2 separate regions of the Homo sapiens genome follow, and region 1 is linked to region 2. Evidence: promoter capture Hi-C in 16 types of primary human blood cells and fetal thymus (Javierre and others, 2016). All regions are on one chromosome and are shown on one strand. Each heading gives the region's core, a stretch centred on a gene start or on the middle of the fragment in contact. The rest is flanking DNA. Distances are from core to core; before and after follow the strand shown. Region 1 overlaps SIK2 (salt inducible kinase 2). Region 2 holds the start of SIK2 (salt inducible kinase 2).

Evidence for each region. The method cuts DNA at HindIII sites, captures the fragments that hold promoters and counts their contacts. A CHiCAGO score of 5 or more calls a contact.
Region 1: a contact is called between a fragment that was not itself captured here and the fragment with the promoter of SIK2 in region 2, in 1 of 17 cell types (total CD8 T cells). The highest score is 5.2, in total CD8 T cells.

Annotation. Positions count from the first base shown.
Region 1 is chr11:111,683,315-111,690,140 of GRCh38, reverse strand. SIK2 (salt inducible kinase 2) reads right to left here. Exons shown (of 15, transcript NM_015191.3): 4 at 1,979-2,140. It also overlaps the pseudogene RN7SKP273 and a transcript of PPP2R1B not described here. Among named protein-coding and RNA genes, the nearest start is that of PPP2R1B, 80 kb to the left of the region's middle. The HindIII fragment of the contact is 340 bases long and covers 3,055-3,394 here.
Region 2 is chr11:111,600,729-111,607,354 of GRCh38, reverse strand. SIK2 (salt inducible kinase 2) reads right to left here and starts at 4,906. Exons shown (of 15, transcript NM_015191.3): 1 at 4,657-4,906. The coding sequence starts at 4,791. RefSeq lists silencers at 4,141-4,300, 4,851-5,290 and an enhancer at 5,381-5,520. The HindIII fragment of the contact is 10,147 bases long and covers 78-6,626 here.

The sequences.
Region 1 (6,826 bases), core at 1,975-4,474, 84 kb before region 2:
GCCAAAAGCAGAGGAAGGGAAAAAAACAAATGGAAGTGAACAGACATAAACTATGAAAGTATTCTAATTTTGTGCATCACATTTTCACAACAAAAATGACAAATTGATATAAATCTTTATATATACGTGTATATGTGTGATATATATATATATATACACATACACACACACACAAATGAATATAACAAATTAACTTAAAAACATTTTGTCTTATTCAGGCAATCCCATTAGAAAAAAAAAATCACAGACTATAGAATGGAAAATCCATTACATATCCTGTAACATATGTAATATTGACATTTAAAATGAGTAAAAATAATTTGCCTTCCCCTAATTGCCTAAGACAAAAACTAATGGGAAATGGCACAGAAACAAATCAGTTCAATGTACAAACATGAGGGTTTTACCTTATATTTTACACCATATACAGCAAACCGAGGAAGCTACTTTGTCCCTAAACTTACTAAGTTCAATGAGTATCCAACCTAACAGGTCAATTAATAATTTCTTGGTCAGTCCCTGTCATCTGGATGTCTCCCTGCTCTTCTTTAACAATCTTAGAACAAAACACCACCATGTGTAACTTTGCTAAGCTTTTAACCCACACTCTTTCTCTTCAAAACCCAAGTCAAACAAAATCTCCCTTACATACCTTCAACCTCTACTGCTGCTGCTCTAGTTCAGACTCATGTTTTCTTAAATGGACTATTGCACTAGATTCCTTATTAGTCTTCCTGTCTTCCACCTCACCCACATCTCCCACCTATCTTAACTCTGCTGCCAGAGACATATTTCTGACATGCAAATCTAATCATGTTATCCCAATTCCACTTTACCCCTACCCATGCCCTATAATTTTCAGTAGGCTAGACTCCCCATTACCTACAGAATAAACTATAAAATCTTTGACATGGCATTCAAGATGTTTCATATTCTGGTCTTTACTTATCTGCTCCCCCTGTATCAATCCTGCATGCCTACAGATTTTACATGTAACCAGTTTTGAATTTACAGTTCCCCAACATTCCAATCTCTGTCTACCTGCCTGCAACATTCTGCTTCTGTTTATCTTCCTGACAAGCTTCTCTAACTTCTCTCTCAAGTCTAAGTTCAAATAATTCCTTCTTTGTGAAGCTTCCCTGACTCTTCAGGTAGACTGCTTGTTCCCTCACCTATACTCCCATGCAGTTTGTATATACTTTTAAAATTGCAACTATCATACTGTATTTTTTCAGTTTTATTAAAATGTAATTGACAAAAATTGTGTATATTCAAGGTGTACATGCTATTTTTATATATGGATATGTTGTGAAATGATTTCCACATATCATATTGTACTTAACATAGCACAGTACCTGATACATATTTATTGAGTGAATGAGAGTTTTGACTATGTAAATAAAGAGACTGAGAATATAAAATAAAACATTTTACAACTGTGAAAAGGCAAGGAGAAAAACAGGCAAACTAATCTCTACCCAACTTAATTTTCATGTTATAAATCAAAACCCTATCGTATCAGATCAAGGAAAGGTGCTTTTCTGTCTCAACTATTTCTCATTCTACCTCCATCACTTCTTTTGCCTTTTCTCTGCTTCTGGCTGTAGCCATCAGTCATAATTAGGAGAGCAGGCCAGAGTACCAGCAACCAGCATTACTCCTCCAGCCCTGTCTTTTCTCCAGTCACTCTGACACTCAGATAAATGTACCTCTTCCAGCAGAGCACCCCGAAACCCTGCCAATGGAATCTGGACACATCAGACCCCAGATGTAGCTCTGACCTGTGTATATTAATAATGAACTCATTCCCTTACTTTTAATTACACACAGAACTAAGGAAATGAATAAAATGGACTTTGAGATAGCCTGATGTCATCAGGTAGAAATGCTGCTGAATCTGCGCCTGCAGGTCTGTTTCCACACACTGAGTGCAGTGGCTCACTTCGGATCTTATTAGAGCCAGTTGTGTCCCAGTTACCTGCTATTTTGATATTCATGTTGTTATCCAGCAGGAGATTTTCAGCTTTGAGGTCACGGTGCACAATCTTCCGACCATGACAATAATCAACAGCAGACAGGATTTGCCAGAATTTTCGCCTGGCTTCAGACTCATTTAACCGGCCATGATTAGCAAGATAGTCTGTAAATGAAGAGAGGATTAAGAATTAGTCACCAAAATAAAATAACTCCACTATTAGTAGTCAGGAAATTTTTTTCCTCAAAAAGTTTTTTTTCTGGCCAGGAGCAGTGGCTCATGCCTGTAGTCCCAGCACTTTGGGAGGCTGAGGTGGGCAGATCACGAGGTCAGGAGATCGAGACCATCCTGGCTAACACGGTGAAACCCCGTCTCTACTAAAAATACAAAAAATTAGCCAGGCATGGTGGCGGGTGCCTGTAGTCCTAGCTACTGGAGAGGCTGAGGCAGGAGAATGGTGTGAACCCAGGAGGTGGAGCTTGCAGTGAGCCGAGATCGCACCACTGCCCTCCAGCCTGGACGAGAGTGAGACTCTATCTCAAAAAAAAAAGTTTTTTTTTTTAAAAAAAACAATAATTAGTGATAAAGTAATATGGTGTTTTCCAAGTTTCTTGACTTTGAAGAAGTATTTCTTTTTCTTTTTTTTTTTTTGAGATGGAGTCTTGCTCTGTTGCCCAGGCTGGAGTGTAGTGGCGTGATCTCAGCTCACTGTAACCTCCACCTCCCAGGTTCAAATGATTCTTCTGCCTCAGCCTCCCGAGTAGCTGGGATTGCAGGTACCTGCCACCATGCCCAGCTAATTTTTGTATTTTTAGTATAGATGGGGTTTCATCACGTTGGCCAGGCTGGTCTCGAACTCCTGACCTCGTGATCCTCCTGCCTCAGCCTCCCAAAGTACTGGGATTACAGGTGTGAGCCACCGTGCCCAGCCTGAAGAAATATTTCTAATCATATTTCACTGGAGTCCAAATAAATGGTGACAGCCCAAGACCAGTCAGCAGCAAGCAGCATAATATTCACAGTACAACTCAACATGATTTTTTTAATGTCTAGGTACTCTCTCTATTTGTTGAAAAGCTTATTATTTCACACTTTAAAAAAATAAAATTTATGTAAAACAGAGGAAATAAATGAATTCTCTGACATCTTGTCACACAGAAAGACATCTTTTCTGAAACACTGTTTTCATGCAATTATTATACAAACCACCTGTAACATGAGATATGGTGATAACTGGAAGTAGCTTAAATAATTCACACCCTGTGCTGTTCGAAAGAATTCTCGTCTACCCAAGAACATGCAGACTTGTGCTCTAAACCAAACATTGTCATGACAACCATATTCTCTCAACTGTAAGACAAATATATTTTGCAAGATATACTATCTTTATGCAATGTTATAATCTTTAATAAAGAAGCTTACCTAAAAATTAATTCTATGTGACTATGTACATCAATTCAATAAAACTAAACATTACCACTCATTAACATTTCACCCAAAGACCTGAAAGTCCTCTGAAATTATCTTTTGATCAACACAAATCTTGAAAGACTTTTAAATTTAACATAATTGTCCTAACTAGGGAACTGTATGAGTGACTCAATATTCCCAGTCACCTGCACACATTTTCTGCTCTAGTGTTTACTAGCTTACTGGTTTTTAAATTCCCTGCCTTTGGCTCATGTCCTTCTCAATATTTACTATGTATTTTTTTCTTTAGTTTTTCGAGACAGAGTCTTGTCTGTCGCCTAGGCTGGAGTGCAGTGGTGTAATCTTGGCTCACTGCAACCTCTGCTCCCCAGGTTCAAGCAATTCTCATGCCTCAGCCTCCCGAATAACTGGGACTACAGGTGCACACCACCACGCCTGGCTAAATTTTGTATTTGTAGTAGAGACGAGGTTTCACCATGTTGCCCGGGCTGGTGTCAAACTCCTGACCTCAGGTGATCTGCCCGCCTTGGCCTCCCAAAGTGCTGGGATTACAGGTGTGAGCCACCATGCCTGGCCTACTTACTATAAAATTTACTAACATTTATACAATACTTTATACTTTACAAAGCATGTTCATATCACAGTGTCTCATTTCATCTTCCTAAAACCTTCTATGATAACTATTACTCAATTCCCATTTTATAGATGAGAAAGCTGACAATCAGAGGGATTAAGTAATCTGGCTGAATTTGTACAACTGGTGACTGAACAGTCAATCTGGGGCTGTAATATTTGACATAATTTTTTTATTATATTAAGCATCTTTACTAGACTCCTGTTGAAATCCTAACCATCCTTTTATTTTATTTGTTTATTTATTTTTTAGTCAGGGCCTCACTCTTTTGTTGCCCAGGGTGCAGTACAGTGTGCAATTATAGCTCACCTCAACCTCAACCTCCTGGATTCAATCAATCCTTCCACCTCAGCCTCCTGAGCAGCTGGGACTACAGATGCATGTCACCACATCTGGCTAATTATTAATATTTTATTTTTTGTAGAGATGAGGTCTCACTCTGTTGTTCAGGCTGGGCTCAAACTCCTGGACTCAAGCAATCCTCCTGCCTTGGCCTCCCAAAGTGCTGGGATTACAGGTGTGAGCCATCACACCAGACCCTAACCATCCTTTCGAAACTCTAATTAAATGCCACCTTGACCTTAAGTCCCTCTTCACTTCAAACAGAAATAACCTGTTCTCTCAACACCTTGTCACTTATCATACACTGCCTCACACTGTATGTAATAATCTGCATGTGTATCACAAATATCCCAAGGTACACACACATGTGTATACACATAGCCCTTACTTTAAAAGAGGGGTCCTCAACCCCTGGGTCACGGACCAGCACTGGTCCATGGCCTGTTAGGAACCCGGCCCCCTGCCATAGGAATGTGAACCCTATTGTGAACTGCACATGTGAGGGATCTAAGTTGAATGCTCCTTTTGAGAATCTAACTAATGCCTGATGATCTGAGGTGGAACAGTTTCATCCCCAAATCATCCTCCCCAACCTGGGAAAAATTGTCCTCCACTTATTTGGTCACTGGTGCCATTTAAAAGGTTGGGGACTGCGGCTCTAACACATAGTGTTTTGAAGTATTAAAGACAACTTCATTTAAGCTTCCTGAAGACAGGAACCATATTATTCTCTTTTGTACTCTGCAATGCTTAGCACTAAGCATAAGCACAAAGCATCCCATGTATAATTCTTAGTACTTAGCTATTAGCCATATTCTAAATATTACAGGCTTTAAATGTAAGTGGGCATTTTATTCTTTTTTATGGGTTGGCATCAGAAACTGAGATGGTCAGCTCATTACATCTTCCTCTTGCCTTTGCAGAACCTGCATAGTAGCTATCCATAATTCTAAGGGAGAACAGATCACTTAAGAACAAGTATGCATAATTTTTAGTCAAAATGTCCAAACTGCCAACAGAGACAGATTATGTTTAAGAACTGGCAAGTAGACAATGTGCCTTCTCTGCATAAGAGCGAACCAGAGGCTCACTTCTACACTGGATGAGCTGGGAAGTCCACTATAAATACGGACCTTTGGGCAAATATAACCTACTGAGGGGAATGCCAATATGCTTTCTATAAGAGAATATCTTTTGAGTAGTTAATAATATCTCTCCTAAGATTCCACACAAAATGCTATTTAAGCTGTACCGCTAAATGAGACCATTTTTTCATGGACAAATGACTGACTTGTCCAAATAGACAACTTTTTTTTTTCCCTGAAGAAAGTGCTGAGTCAATGGAGGTTAGTGGGAAAGATTTTTGAGATTTTTGGCAACACAGAGAAATCTAACAGATTTAATGTGAATGAGTGGAAGTTTACATATATAGAAAGAGACCCCAAACTACTGACTACAAAATGAGTCCTAGGAAGCACAATGGAATCTATAGTTATTGTTTTTTGAAGCTATCAGTCCAAATTGGGAGTACCACAGGCAAGGGGAAAGAAAAAGTTTGAAACGTGGCAGCAGGAAGGCACTGTCTGAAAAACAAAGGCATTGTATATCTGAATCTAAAGTTACCATGTAAAGACAGAATCATCACCTATCAGTAAATGTAATCTCACACACAGTGTGAGAAAAATGGTCTAAATTCCAGAGACAAACTATTTAGAGAAGTGGCACTTTCACTCTTCAGGTGAAAATCTCGGCAGGCATTCCAGTGTATCTATTATCTTCCCCATGCTTTATGATTTCTGCAGTGTAGGCATCCTTGAAAACTGTAACATCTGCTGAGAAATCAGTAATAGAAGTAAGTGAGCCAGAAACATGTGGCTGCAAATAAAATTTGTTTAGGCATACATCAACCCCTTCAAGGAACACAATCCAAGCTCAAGTTAACGCACATGGTCTTGAAGTTAACATACAAAAAGCACATTTATGTTTCACATTAAAAACCTTATTGATGGGCTGGTGTGGCAGCTCACACTTGTAATCCCAGCACTTTGGGAGGCTGAGGCGGGCGGATCACCTGAGGTCAGGAGTTCGAAACCAGCCTGGCCAACCTGGCGAAACCCCATCTCAACTAACTATACAAAAATTAGTCAGGCATGGTGGCGGCCACCTGTTATCCCAGCTACTCAGGAGGCTGAGGCAGGAGAATCGCTTGAACCTGGGAGGTGGAGGTTGCAGTGAGCCGAGATCACGCCACTGCATGCCAGCCTGGGAGACGGAGCAAGACTCTGTCTCAAAAATAAATAAATAAATAAATTAAATAAATAATAAAAATAAAAAATAAAAACCTTATTTACAGAACAAACTTATGAATGTAATAGCAACTGTCTATACTAACTGCTTATGTGTGTATTCTTGAGAGCTTGTTTGGAGATTCTGGCAGAGGAGTG
Region 2 (6,626 bases), core at 3,657-6,156:
CTTTTAAAAATCTTACATTTTAAGGTGGTAAAGAATTAGGCCTAACTATAAAATCCCCAAAATGCACATGGAAAGCTTTTTAGCAAACAAATACAGTTTTCAAAATGTCCTTGTTATCAGTTTTGCATTCCAAGTTCTCTTAAGGGTAAGTAAGCAGCCTGACACCCACATGCCATTTTAATAAGGTCATTTTTAGAACCTCTATGAAATATCTTTATGATTCCACAGACTATACATTTACATGCTCTTTAGCTAAGCAATATGAGAGGTATATGGTGTTGAGGAAAACTCAAGTTATCTATTATAGAAAAGGTCTGAAAATAACTAGTTATGGTTATCTTTGGGGTTGTGATTTTATGGGGAATTCTTTTCATTTATTTATAAGTTTTTTTTTTTTTCTTTTTAATGAGACTGGGTCTTGCTATATTGACCAGGCTGGTCTCCAACTCCTGGCCTCAAGCAACCCATCTGCATTGGCCTCCCACTGTGCTGGGATTACAGGTGTCAGCCATCTAGCCTGGCCTCCTATTTATACTTTTAAATTTCTCAATAATAAACACGACAGATTTGGTAATAAAAATACACTACTCTTTAATGTAAAAATAATACCTTGTTACTTAGGAAATTTCCTTTTAGGACTTTACCAGCAATTTCTCCTCCCTAAAAAAAATGTAAAATGCACACTCAGTTATAGGCACAAAAATATTCACTGCGTATTATTTACTATAAACAAAAACTGAAAATTGCATAATATTCATTAATAAGGGAATTGTTAGGTAAAACGATATTCATCCACAAGGTAGAACACCATGCAGCTAACAAAAATGTTTTTATAAAGTTATATATAATAAACAAAACGCCTAGGTTATAATATTAAGTAGAAAAAAGAACATAATTTATATATATGTACCATGTGCTTTCATCTATGGAAAAAATGCATTTAAATAAAAAGACTAGTGCCATAATGTTAAGAATGGGTTATTCCCATTAGTGGAGGAATTATATGTATACTTTTTTGTTCACTATACTCTTATTTTTTATATTATAATAAGAGACTACTTCTTTATTTATTTTTCTTTCTTTTGTCCTGAAAGCAACAAGAAAGAAACTGTTTCTTAAATAGAATACAAAAACATTTAAGGATACAATTGGCTTTTCTAGAATTTTACTTAAGAGACAAAAAACTAGCTATACCACTAACTAGAAGGAAAAAGTTATTTCCTAATACTGTATAGTATTGATAAAATAAACTACTCAAGGACACTCACTGAATAGCAAACAAGCAACCACTATTGCCTCAAAGTTTAACAGCTGACATGCTATTATTCTTTTCCCATTATGCTAATTTTATAAAATTAGCATCTCTAATTCATAAACCACAAACTAATACTACAAAGCCTTTGCAAAGCGTATTAGGAAGCTGGATTCTACCACCACCTGTCTTCCCCTTTGGATGCAAAATTCACATCGAGATCTAACACAATACCACTTCAGATGATGATGTAATTATATTTCATAAACAATGTTAAACTGTTTGATAGATTCGACCAAAACGAAGATCTCTTTTGTCCACTATTTTTTTCCTAAAAGGGAAACAGACTTGAATCTCCCAAGTTCTGTAGAAATACATCATTTGTGAGTGATATAGAACAAGAGACAGAGAAGAACCAGTTAAAAATAAAAGGGTCCTAATTGCTCATTACATAGATGATTAAGCCCTAAAATTTGCCTCAGAGTCAAACTTGGGAAAAAAGACCTCTAAGTTTTAAAACACACAAACTTGTATCGATGTTAAAGCATAGTATATAAAGAAACTTTTATCGTCAATAAGTATAATTGTGATATTTTGCTGATATTATTTTTATACCATATTCATTGTTCCACTATAACTACTGTAGTATGTTCTGCCATGAAAACTGAATTTAAAACAAAAGTTTTAATTAAACATCTTATAGTTTTTAAGGTAGTTGTATTTATCAAAAACACACAAACATTTATCCAGTGAATGAACGAATAAGGATAAATAACTGCTGTAAAAAACATCATTAACAATGGAATTGTTACTCCCATGGAATACTTTAAGAAACAATTGGGCCAGGCGCGGTGGCTCACGCCTGTAATCCCAGCACTTTGTGGGGCCAAGGCGTGTGGATCACTTGAGGTCAGGAGTTCGAAACCAGCCTGGCCAACACTGTGAAACCCCGTCTCTACTAAAAACACACAAATTAGCCGGGCATGGTGGTGAGCGCCTGTAATCCCAGCTACTTGGGAGGGTGAGGCAGGAGAATCGCTCGAACCCAGGAGGCAGAGGTTGCAGTGAGCCGAGATCGCACCACTGCACTCCAGCCAGCCTGGGCAACAAGAGCGAGGCTCCGTCTCAAAAAAAAAAAAAAAAAATTCAGAGCAACTTTACAACCTAGAGATCCAGAGAACTTTTCTGTTCAAAGATTGCTTTGACATTTCACTTATCCCTCTCTACCTTAATATCTCCAATCACACCCACCAAATTACCACAGATACCCTCACCCATCTCAAATTCACACTATTTCTTTTTATATGTTAATAACAGCTTCTTTAGAAAAGCACAGGGAAATGGGTTCTGCGGACTAAACATTTAGCTTTTAACGTAAATCATTTTACACATATATACTACACACACGATTTAGGATCTAAGTCCTCTTTCACGATCTGACCGGTGCTTGTTCCAATTACAAATGAATGCATTGATCTCACTCTGATAGCCAAACCACGGTATTACTCCATAGTGCCCCCTAGCTCTTTAAGATATATTAGTTTAAAACGGACACCATTTGAATTGTCAACCTCAAAGTGTCAATCACTCCACTTAAGCAGCTCTTACTGTATTAACTAAATTTGACCTGATAAATAATAGATGACTTAATTAAATCTTGCTATTAATCCCAGTAAGAGCTGATGAGAAAAAAATATTAAGAACTGATGGATTTGGAATTCAACCACACGATATACTACAGTTCAAAAGTTTTGTAGAACCTCTCTATAACTCACAATTTGTTTGTTTTTAGAAAGTCATTAAGCAAGGACTCATAAAACATGCATTTAAAATGCCTTCTTTTATGTAACTTAAAGGGAAATGGCATGGCATAGGCCATGGCTCTTCAGAGGAATGGAACCAATTTCTTCATTTTAAAAAATGCTGGGATCAGATTAAGATTTAACAATATCACTATAGTCAAGTTATCATTATCATTACAAACAATCTAAATTGCTAACTGGTAAATCTGTGAGAAGAAAATATCTGACCTTGGTCCTGATTCTAAAAGATAAGTCAGATTTGGACTGGTTCAGGACCAGCAGGGGAAGGCAAAAAGTAAAGAAGACAGAATGACATATACCCCTTCCTTTTGGAAACGGGATTAAGCAAAACTTCTAAGTACAACTGCAACTCCAAAAATCACTCACGTTTGCAAGTGCCCTTCGCCTTACATAAGTCATTCTGAAAAGAAGTCCTACTTTATTCTACACTCAAACTCCAGTACATTCGTACTAACAAGGGAAAAAGCAGAATAGGACCAAAACTGGAGGGCAAACAAACAGGAAAAGGATGAAACTCCAGGAGGAACTACAATAAGGCAGAGTAGAGTACGTCAAAACCACTAGGTTTTATTCTAAAGAATGGTTTTGTTTCTACCGTTCTTCTAAGGTATTTAATTTGCACGTCTTAAAATAGAGACCCTGAGGAGAGCAGCTTGAGGCAGTGGAAGGAAGGGGGGCGGGTTAGGTAAGAACAGAGACTTGTGAGAGAGTATGTGCGGTGCATTAGAATGTGCAATGAAGAGGGTGCAGGATTCACCGTCAGGAAGCAGTTGAGGGCTTTATGAGTAGAGGCAGAATCTGATATGGTTTAAAGAATGCGTATTACAGCCAGAATGCACACCTGGTACAGTGACAACCCTAGACAAGTAGAAGACCAATCCACCCACCGTGCAAATGCAGAGATGACCATTTTAACCAGTTCTATTGTCTGGGGCATTAAATGGAAATGCCCCAGGCAAGAGATCAAGCTAGCCAGACACCAAATCAGAGACACCCTGGGCCAAAAGGAAGGAGAGGAGATGGACAGTGGCCGTGGGGGTATTCCCAGCCATGGGGCCCTTCCTCGTCGGGCAGGGGAGGGGCGCCGGGGTCACGGGGGCCGCACGATCCCCCATCCGCGGAGCCCAAGCGCAGGCGGTCCCCTCCTCGGGCCGGCGACGTCTCTCACGGCGCAGCCTGGGAACACCGAGACTTCCCCTCCCACCCCACCCCCAGCCGAAAGCAGGGAAGACGCGGAACTTGGGCTCCGGAGCGGAGGCCACAGACCAGGTCACGGCCCGGGTGGGGGGCTCTGGGCGAAATTCCGGGTGGCCACCGGGGGTGGCGTAGGGGAAAGCAAAGCCCCGGCTGGTTGCGTTTCCAGTCGGACGACACTCGGGTCCGGGTGCCCGGGCCCGATCCCTTCGCTGCTCACCGACCCCCTGCACCTCCTGGGTCCTCACAGTCCCAGGCCCGCTCGCCTCCGCCAGTGAGGCGGCCTCTCGGGTCTCCCCGGTCCCACCACTGCGGCCGCCCCTCTCGGTAAGCAGCTCCTCTCCCGAACCCTCGCCTCGGACGCTCCCGCCGAGCCCCGGGCCGCACCTCCGTCTTGGTGATCCGGTGCCGCCCCAGCTTCACCACAGCGAAGTTGCCCTTGCCCAGCGTGCCCTCGATGTCGTAGAACCCCACCCGGACCGGCCCGCGCTGCAAGTGCCTCGGGCCATCCGCCATGACCATGCTGGGCCCCGCTGCTAGACACGGCGGACAGGAGCGCGGGCGGGCGGGAGGGTTGGCAGCGCGGCTTGGCTTGGGCGACGGCCGCTCCGCTTGCTCCTTCGCTCCTTCGCTCCTTCCCTCCCGCTCCCCAGGGCCCAGCCAGGCGCGCGCCGCCGCTGACGTGCGCCGACGTCAGGGGGCCGGGGCAGGGGGGCGGGGGCGGGCCCGAGCCTGGATTGGTCACCATGGCGACCGAAGCACCGCCGACGTCGGCTGCTGGAGAGTGGGGGACGGCGCACGGGGAGGGGCGCGAGCCTGGCCGGCGCGCTCCTTCCGGGCTCAGACGCCCTCCCCTCGCCCCTCCGCCTCACCGCTGCCAGGGGCGGGGTCGCTGCTCGGCCCGCTCCGTTCCTCGGCCTTCCAGGCGAAGGGCAAGAGCGAGCCCTGGCGGACCGTGCGGAGGGGTGCAGAGACCTGGATGCGGCCTGCGATCTCCTTCCCCGCCCCGGCGTTCTCCGCCCACCCGGGGTCCTTCCCGCCAAAACCTCTCACCTACAAGTACAGCGCGTCCTAAATTTGGCACCGGCAAAGAACTGTGGCTGAGCAATGCGTTGCTCACAGGCTCCTTTCTTTGTGTCCTTTTCTCTTCTCGTTGCTATATATAATAAAACCCTCCACGTTTTGATGTCTCCGAGGAGTCATTCTGACAGCAGTGCAGTCGCTTATAGACTCACAGAATGTCAATGTCAGCGCTGAAGAGATCTTGGAGATCACTTAATCCAGAGATTTGGAGCCTCATGTGAGCTTCAGAGTTTGGAACCCCCTAAAACACAGGCCAGTTTTTGCTTATGTGAGCATGTCTCTGGGGAGATGGACCCGTAGCTTCTGTCAGATTCCCAAACGCGTTGGTGACTCTGAAAAAGTTTAGAAATATTTCTCTAATCCAATTTTTTTCCCCAAAGGACGAAGAAGACCTCAAGGAATAAAGGGAATTGCCTAGGTCACACAGGCAATAGTCGAGGTAGGATTATAAATCACACCACGCTTCCAAATGTGACTCAAGGAAACAGGGACAGTGACACCTCACTATTTTGAGATGTATCATATGCCTTTATATCTTGGTTTCTAAATACCATTCTCCACCTAAAGGAGCCAGACTCCGTGGCGAGATGGCTCATTCGAGGGCAGAGACAGGGAAAGTATAAAATGCCCTTGAAAGATCCTGCTCCTTAAAGCAAGGAGATTTCTTGGCTATGTCAAGGAAGATATGTCAAAAGAAAGCAGATGGCTCGAAGGTGCTCCCCCCTTACCAAATCTGAGACAGTTTGAGTATCAGGAATAAATAATGGGCCGGGCTTAGTGGCTTACGCCTGTAATCCCAGCACTTTGGGAGGCTGAGGCGGGTGGATCACCTGAGGTCAGGAGTTCAAGACTAGCCTGTGTGAAACCCCATCTCTACTAAAAATGCAAAAATTAGCCGGGCGTGGTAGTGGGCGCCTATAATCCCAGCTACTCGGGAGGCTGAGGCAGGGAGAATTGCTTGAACCAGGGAAGCAGAGGTTGCAGTGAGCCGAGATCGTGCCACTGCACTCCAGCCTGGGCGACAGAGCGAGACTCTGTCTCAGTAAATAAATAAATAAATAAATAAATATAGAAATTGATTCTAACACATTGAATTTTTTAAAAGAATCGTAGAGCATACTTACTTTTAAACAGAAAAATAAAGAGGGGAGAAGTGAAATGACGGTGGAATGCCAACTAATATATGTTAGAAGAAATGACAATTAGCAAATCATTTGGCAGCCATTACAGTAATAATGGATTCAGACAATTATCAATAGATGTTAAAATCATTG